Regions from separate parts of the Homo sapiens genome. Here region 2 is linked to region 1. The links are contacts of gene promoters, found by promoter capture Hi-C in blood cells and fetal thymus (Javierre and others, 2016). All regions are on one chromosome and are shown on one strand. Each heading gives the region's core, a stretch centred on a gene start or on the middle of the fragment in contact. The rest is flanking DNA. Distances are from core to core; before and after follow the strand shown.

The links. The method cuts DNA at HindIII sites, captures the fragments that hold promoters and counts their contacts. A CHiCAGO score of 5 or more calls a contact.
Region 2: a fragment that was not itself captured here is called in contact with the fragment with the promoter of FAM81A in region 1 in 1 of 17 cell types (total B cells); the score reaches 5.7 in total B cells.

What each region holds. Positions count from the first base shown.
Region 1 is chr15:59,436,751-59,439,977 of GRCh38, forward strand. FAM81A (family with sequence similarity 81 member A) reads left to right here and starts at 1,436. Exons shown (of 9, transcript NM_152450.3): 1 at 1,436-1,532. RefSeq lists a silencer at 1,134-1,663. The HindIII fragment of the contact is 11,804 bases long and covers 1-2,035 here.
Region 2 is chr15:59,003,383-59,006,609 of GRCh38, forward strand. All of the region lies in intron 1 of RNF111 (ring finger protein 111), which reads left to right. Among named protein-coding and RNA genes, the nearest start is that of RNF111, 17 kb to the left of the region's middle. The HindIII fragment of the contact is 1,528 bases long and covers 828-2,355 here.

The DNA.
Region 1 (3,227 bases), core at 186-2,685:
ACCGAGAAAGGAAAGAATAATCATTGAGCTTTTGCAGCACTAAAGAGATGCTGTTATACCAGATCTACACATCACAAGACTCAAGGCCATTACTCTCCTGGTCACAACGGCAGTGTTAACATGTGTCTGTGATTATTTGATGAATGCTCGTCAGGCTCTAAGCTCTGTGGGATCAGAAAGTGATGTGTCTCTTTTTCATCTTCACCATTGTGTCTCAGGGCTAAGCATAGTTTCTAGCACTTGGCAGCCATCCAATAGATACTGTTGGCTGAATGAATGTTACAGATGCGTTAGCGCTTTGTGGAAGTTATTAGCCCGTTTTACTGGTGAGGAAACAGTCGCAGAATACCCACAAATATTTCAAAGATCACACACAAATAACAGTCCTTAATACTAATAGCCCCTAAATAATAATGCTGCCGGAGAGAGAATTCCAAAACCGCTCAGCCGAATCCACAGTTCGGGCTCTTCTACCATGTCGGGCTCCTTCCCCTGGGTTGGAAGGGCTCAGGCTGGGGCGGGGTGGGGGAGACAGACAGGAGCCCCTGTGCTGGGTAAGTACCAGTATCTGCGAAGGAGGCACGAACCAGATGAGGCAAAGGTCGTGTCCCCCGCAACTCCGCTGAAATCCTGCCCACCGAGAGGAAGCACAATTATGAGTGAATGGGCTTGTGCGTCCTGATGAGAATCCAAAATCGAGAGGAAGGTGGAAAGAGCCAGGACGCGCTGGGAGGGGATGAAGCTGACGGGAGAAGAAAGGGCTGGGAAGAGGAGGGGTGTTCGGGGTTCTTCTTCTCGTCGTGTCTGCTGCGATGAGACACGATCCTGGGTCCCAACTGCAGGTGTCAAGGCGATTCAGTAAATGACACATGGCAGCCCCGGAGGGTTCGTTCACCTGCACAGGTGGGGCGTCACCGTGGCCTAATCAAATAACTTCTCCCCAATTTGAGGTGGGGCGGGGGAGAGAACTATTTTTGTGGGAAAGCGGTTTAGTAAATAAGGTATATTGGGGCTCTAGAGAGAATTGCAGTGCCACCACCATGGCTATGATCTCCGTCAGGCACCATTTCAACACCTCTCCAAATCAACCATCCCTACAACAGGATTTATTTTCCAATGAGCGAAATCCCCGCCCGCCAACTCCAAGGCGCTTGGATGCGAGCTCTGTGGGAAACAGCAGCGACGAGCAGAGGCTATTTTGGGTGTGGGAACGAGGAGGGAGGAGGGGCGGCGCCGCCAGGCTGGGCGCGGGTGCGCGGGGAAAGCCTCCAGCTCGGGCTGCCACGGCAACCGCGTCCAGGCAACGCGCCCGGAAGCGGCTCCGGCGGCGCGCGGCGGCTCGCGCCCCCCGGGAGCCGCGAACCCGGCCGGGCCGCGCGCCGGGCCAGGCGGCAGGCGCGCGCTGATTGGACGGCGCTCCCCGCGGCGCGGGCCCGCAGCCGGGCGCCCTGCTCAGCCAGCGCCAGCGGCCGCCGCACCCAGCCGCGCCGGCGAGGACATGGGCAGCCGCGGCGCGCCCACCCCCCGCGCCGGTGAGTGCCGCGCTCTGGGAACCCCGGCCGGGCGGCCTCTGGGGCTGGGCGGCGGGAGCTCTCTGGGACGGCCGGTGACCTTGGGGCAGCCTCTCAGGAGATAGGCGTGGGGTAGAGAGAGCTGCGCGTGGCCCATGTGACATGCCGCGGGCGAGAGGGTTAACTGCATGTGACGCGAAGGGCTGAAGTTGGGCACAGAGCGCAACTGGCGTTGCATTTTCGCGGGGGCTGCATGCTAGCGAACCAACCGACGCCCGGAGGGACTGTTTGGGGGAGCTGGGGTGGTGCACGGATTGCCAGGGGTAAAGGCGAGTCAGCCGACCCACTACTCAGAGTGAGTGACCTTGGGTAGGTTAACCATCTGCTCTTCCGCCCCTTCGCTTTTTCTCATCTTTCAAACGAGAGGCTAGGGGGTCTTTGCAGTTCCAGAATGCTGTTGTGCCATCCTACTGCGAGCTGAGAAAGAGCCCTAAAGTACGGTTCTGCAGGTACCGGAGATGCAAAGCTTAACCATGTTTATTCTAGGAGGGGTTTCCATTAATTGGCTCCTAAAGTGGTAAGAAATGTTATCGTTGTCTGGAAGATTATGGAGCAAGCAGTCGGTGGTCCGGAGAATGGCTTCTTAAGATGCACAGGTTAAAACCTCTTTGGTGCCCTAAAGACATGAACAAAATCAGGATTAATGCTCCTAAGTTCTTCTTTCCTGTAGTTAATCTAATAGGAAACTTTGTATTTGAACAGGTAAAATCAAAACCCAATCGTGGCAGGCAGCAGCAAATTAAGTGAGTCATTTCTTCAATGTGCACGAGGTTTATGTGTGTGTGTGCGCGCGTGTGTGTGTGTGCGTGTGTGCGCGTGCGCTCTCGTCCTCAGCTCAAAGTCTGCGTACGGCAGTGTTGGAAATTATTTCATAGGAGTAACCAGAAATAATGCTAGAATGATTCGAATCCACAAAAGTGCAGCTCTCTCAGAAGCAAGGGCAAACATTTGCAACTTGCTTTTAAAATAAGAGGTTTGTAGAGTAAATATATTCTTTATTGAGAACCATCCCCAGATTTGCACATTGTATCTGCCTTCTGGGCCCTGTCACTGAATGCGCGTGTGTGTATGTGTGTGTGTGTGTGTTGGGGGGGGCGGGTTCCTTGGCACTTATAATATTTTTAGCGTTGACTGGTACTAAAAAGGACACTTAGGCCCCCTTCCATATCCACTGTCTATAAACTTCCCTCTTCCACGGAGGGGAATGGAGGACGTACCCTCTCACAGGTACCCCTGGTTGCCCCTTCTGACTTTCTACTTAAAGCTACCCTTGATTTTCATTCGAATCTGATTTCATCTGTATAAGAACGTGGGTTGGGAAGACACAGTTTCCAATGCTAATGAATAAGCTTCTGCAAGCTTGTTTACCTGAGGGCTTAATAACCTTTAATGTGTTACATGTTAGAAATCTGATAGCATACGGATAGAAAAATACTTAGTGTCCAGGAATTCAACCATGAAGCCCTACCAACCATTTAATGAGCCACACTACATGGTGCTTGGAAACGTTATTAGCGCATTATTCAGCCTCCTCTCTCTGCAGGCCACTAGGCTGTGTCACTCCGACCTGGCTTTAAATGTCTTGTTTCTTGTATCCTGCAGCCACACTCTTGCATTTTCATTTTTTATGTAGCTGAACCCACCTTCTCTCCCGAG
Region 2 (3,227 bases), core at 342-2,841, 430 kb before region 1:
GTGTGAGCCGCCACACCCGGCCTTTTTCTTTTTTGAGACAGAGTCTGGCTCTGTTGCTCAGACTGGAGTGCAGTGGCATGATCCCTGCTTACTGCAACCTCCACCTCCTAGGCTCAAACCATCCTCCCACCTCAGCCTCTCCAGTAGCTGGGACTACAGGTGCGTGCTACCACACCCAGCTAATTTTTTTAAAATTTTTTGTAGAGACAGGGTTTTGCCGTGTTGCCCAGGCTGGTCTTGAACTCCTGAGCTCAAGCGATCTGCCTGCCTCAGCCTCCCAAACTGCTGGAATTACAGGTGTGAGCCACTGCACGTGGCGTATTTTCTTAATAGCACGTGTTTCGCTCTAAAATTATCTTGGTTTTTTGGTCTCATTTGCATGTAATTTCCATGAGAGCAAAGACTTTCTATGTCCTGTTCGTGGCTGATGCCAGTGCCTAAAACAAGTGCCTAGCTCATTATAGGCTTTCAATAAATATTTATTGAATGAGAACCATAAATGAATAAGTGATAGCTAATGTATTGTCAGTGATACTGTATCTTCTAAAATATTAATAAGCTACTGTAAAATTAATTTCTCTTTCCTGATTGACTTTTCTTGGTTTTGTTCTCATTCCAGATGCTTGGGATGGAAGAAGTTTGAGTGACCTATCCTGTGTTTATCCTCCTTGCCGTAGCTGAGTTGATCTTTTTGAAACCCTCTTCCCAGACTCTTGGATTTATTTATTTTATTCCAGTGTGAATGCATGTTTTTTCCCTCATAGATGGCAGTTCTGGATTAGCAGTTTTAAGGTCTCAACTTTGTTTTTAGTTATCTTCCTTTAACAAGCTTCAATTTAAAATACTCCTTCTTTTCTCTCCCAATTATCTTTACTGATCCTTAGTTGTCTCTTTTTATTATCTCCAACAGAAGGAACTTGCTGTTTAGGTTTACTGAAACTAAAATTCTGAAGATTGCAAAAAAGTATATAGGTAAATGTGTGTAGATGAGACTTAACGTGTACAAGAATTCACATTAGGATTAAGGTTACTATTTTTATCTAGAATATGAAATTTGTTAGGAAAGGGTAGCACCTTACTATCTTTTTATCACCTTGATCAGTGACGTACAGTAAAAATTCAAACCATAAAAGGTTTGTTAAATAAAGTAGCTGACATCAGTATGCAGGATAATGAATTCTTGGTTTCCCCAAACCAGTATTCTAGAGTTGTTTAATATCTTGGTGTTTTTTGTTTCTTGTAACAAGAATTTTCACTTCACTGTCTGAATATACTGATCCAAGGAAAGCAAAAATGGCATTTAGTCAAAGATAACCTTGGAAATCCCTAAAGTTGCCCAAATATACATTATAAATATGCAGTCTCTGGAAGTCTAGCACTTCCCGTTTTCCCTCCACTATTGGAATAAATCATGTTTTCATTGTTAAATATCAGAGAAAGAGTAGGTTTGTGTATATGGCCTATAATATGGGAAAAATAAATGGCTCTAAATATTAGAATCTGACAGCATAGTAAGATGCTCACATTCTGAGAGACACTTGGGAAGTGAGACCCAGTGGAGAGCAGCAAAATTTAATCTCCTATTTTGTGTTGATTCTAGGCATATAATCAGTGAGCAGAAGGGCAAGCATAATCTCCTACATGGTTTAAATTATTTTTTTCTTGTCAAGTTCACTTTATGGGCTTGATGTCTATCTAGAGGTGTTCTCCCAAATTCCAACTTTCAGTATGCCTATACTGTCAGCCATTAAAGTGTCAGTAAGTCTTCCTGGTTTTCCTCTTACAACTCAAGTTCTCTTTCTTTAGTACATACTGTTTGTTTATTTGTCGAGACAGTCTCACCTATGTTGCCTAGGCTGATCTCAAACTCCTGGGCACAAGCAGTCCTCCCTGCATGAAGTGCTGGGATTACAGGCACGAGCCACTGCACCCAGCCTCTAGAACATAGGCTTTCATTACTATTCTCCAGATTACATATTTTGACTGACCTAAATCATATATGTAGAGTAAAAACAAATTTTATCTAAATAAACTTATTGGACTTCATTCAAAGAGAAATTGTTTCCTTGGGCAGTTTTGCTCCCAACATTAGATCCCGCATTCTCAGGACAGCTGTCATCTTTTTAATTTAGTTTTCTGATTTTATTTTTATTTATTTTGTTACTCCAACCTTTGCTTTGGCCTTTAACAACTCAGTGTTTTGGTCTAATCTTCAAGAGGAATTTGAGGTTCACTTGAATAAGTTAGACTAGTTTGAGGTGGGTGTAGCTAGAGGATTGAAGTCGTACCAAAAAAAAAATGTATGTATATGTATATGTGGTGATCGTGGGTAGGGGGAAGAATTCAGAGGGAAGAAGCTTGTGGACGTCTTTGCCTGGACGATTTCTAAAAACTAGCTGACTCGTCATCTTTAAAACAACAACAATAAAAGCTATCATATGCATATGTTACTTTGTTTAATATTTACAACAACCCTTTGTGGTAAATATTTTCATTTTTCAGATGAGGAAATTCAGGCACAGAATGATTAATAATTTGCTAATGAGTCACAGCAGTGATGGGGATGTGGAGATTTAAATCAATGCATTTTGAGTTGCCTGAGCAAAGAATTCCAAAATTTAGGAAGTCACTATTTCTGTATTTCCTTCTAAGGAAAACCATCTAAAGTATATTTTTATCTCCAGTAGGCGTGGTCATTGTCAAGAGAAGGAAAGGTTGGTGATTTTATTAGGGTGATGGGATTGGGACTTAATTTCTCTTTGCTTTTTCTGTGTATTCCAGATTTTATATAGTGAACTTATTTTAAAAACCAACCAAGTTGATGTTTGATGTATAATTTATATACAATATGAGGCACACGTTTTATGTATAGTTGGATGAATTTTGGCAAATGTGTCTGTCCATGCAGTTAGCACCCCAATCAGGACATAAAACATTCCATCACTCTAGAAAGTTCCTTTGTGCTCTTTTGCCATCAGCCACCCACATCTCCTGCCTCAGGCAACTACTCATCTGATTTTTGACATCATAGATGAGTTTTCTTTGTTTTAGAATTTCATGTAAGTAGTAGTATTATTACTCTTGTGTTTGATACTCTGCTCATCAAATGTTTTCCCTTTAGCATTTTATTATGCAAAATTGCAAACAGAAAAGATGAAAGAATTGTACAGTGAACGCCCATCTCCCTGCCACCTAGATTCTATGATTAACAATTTGCTATTTTTTTG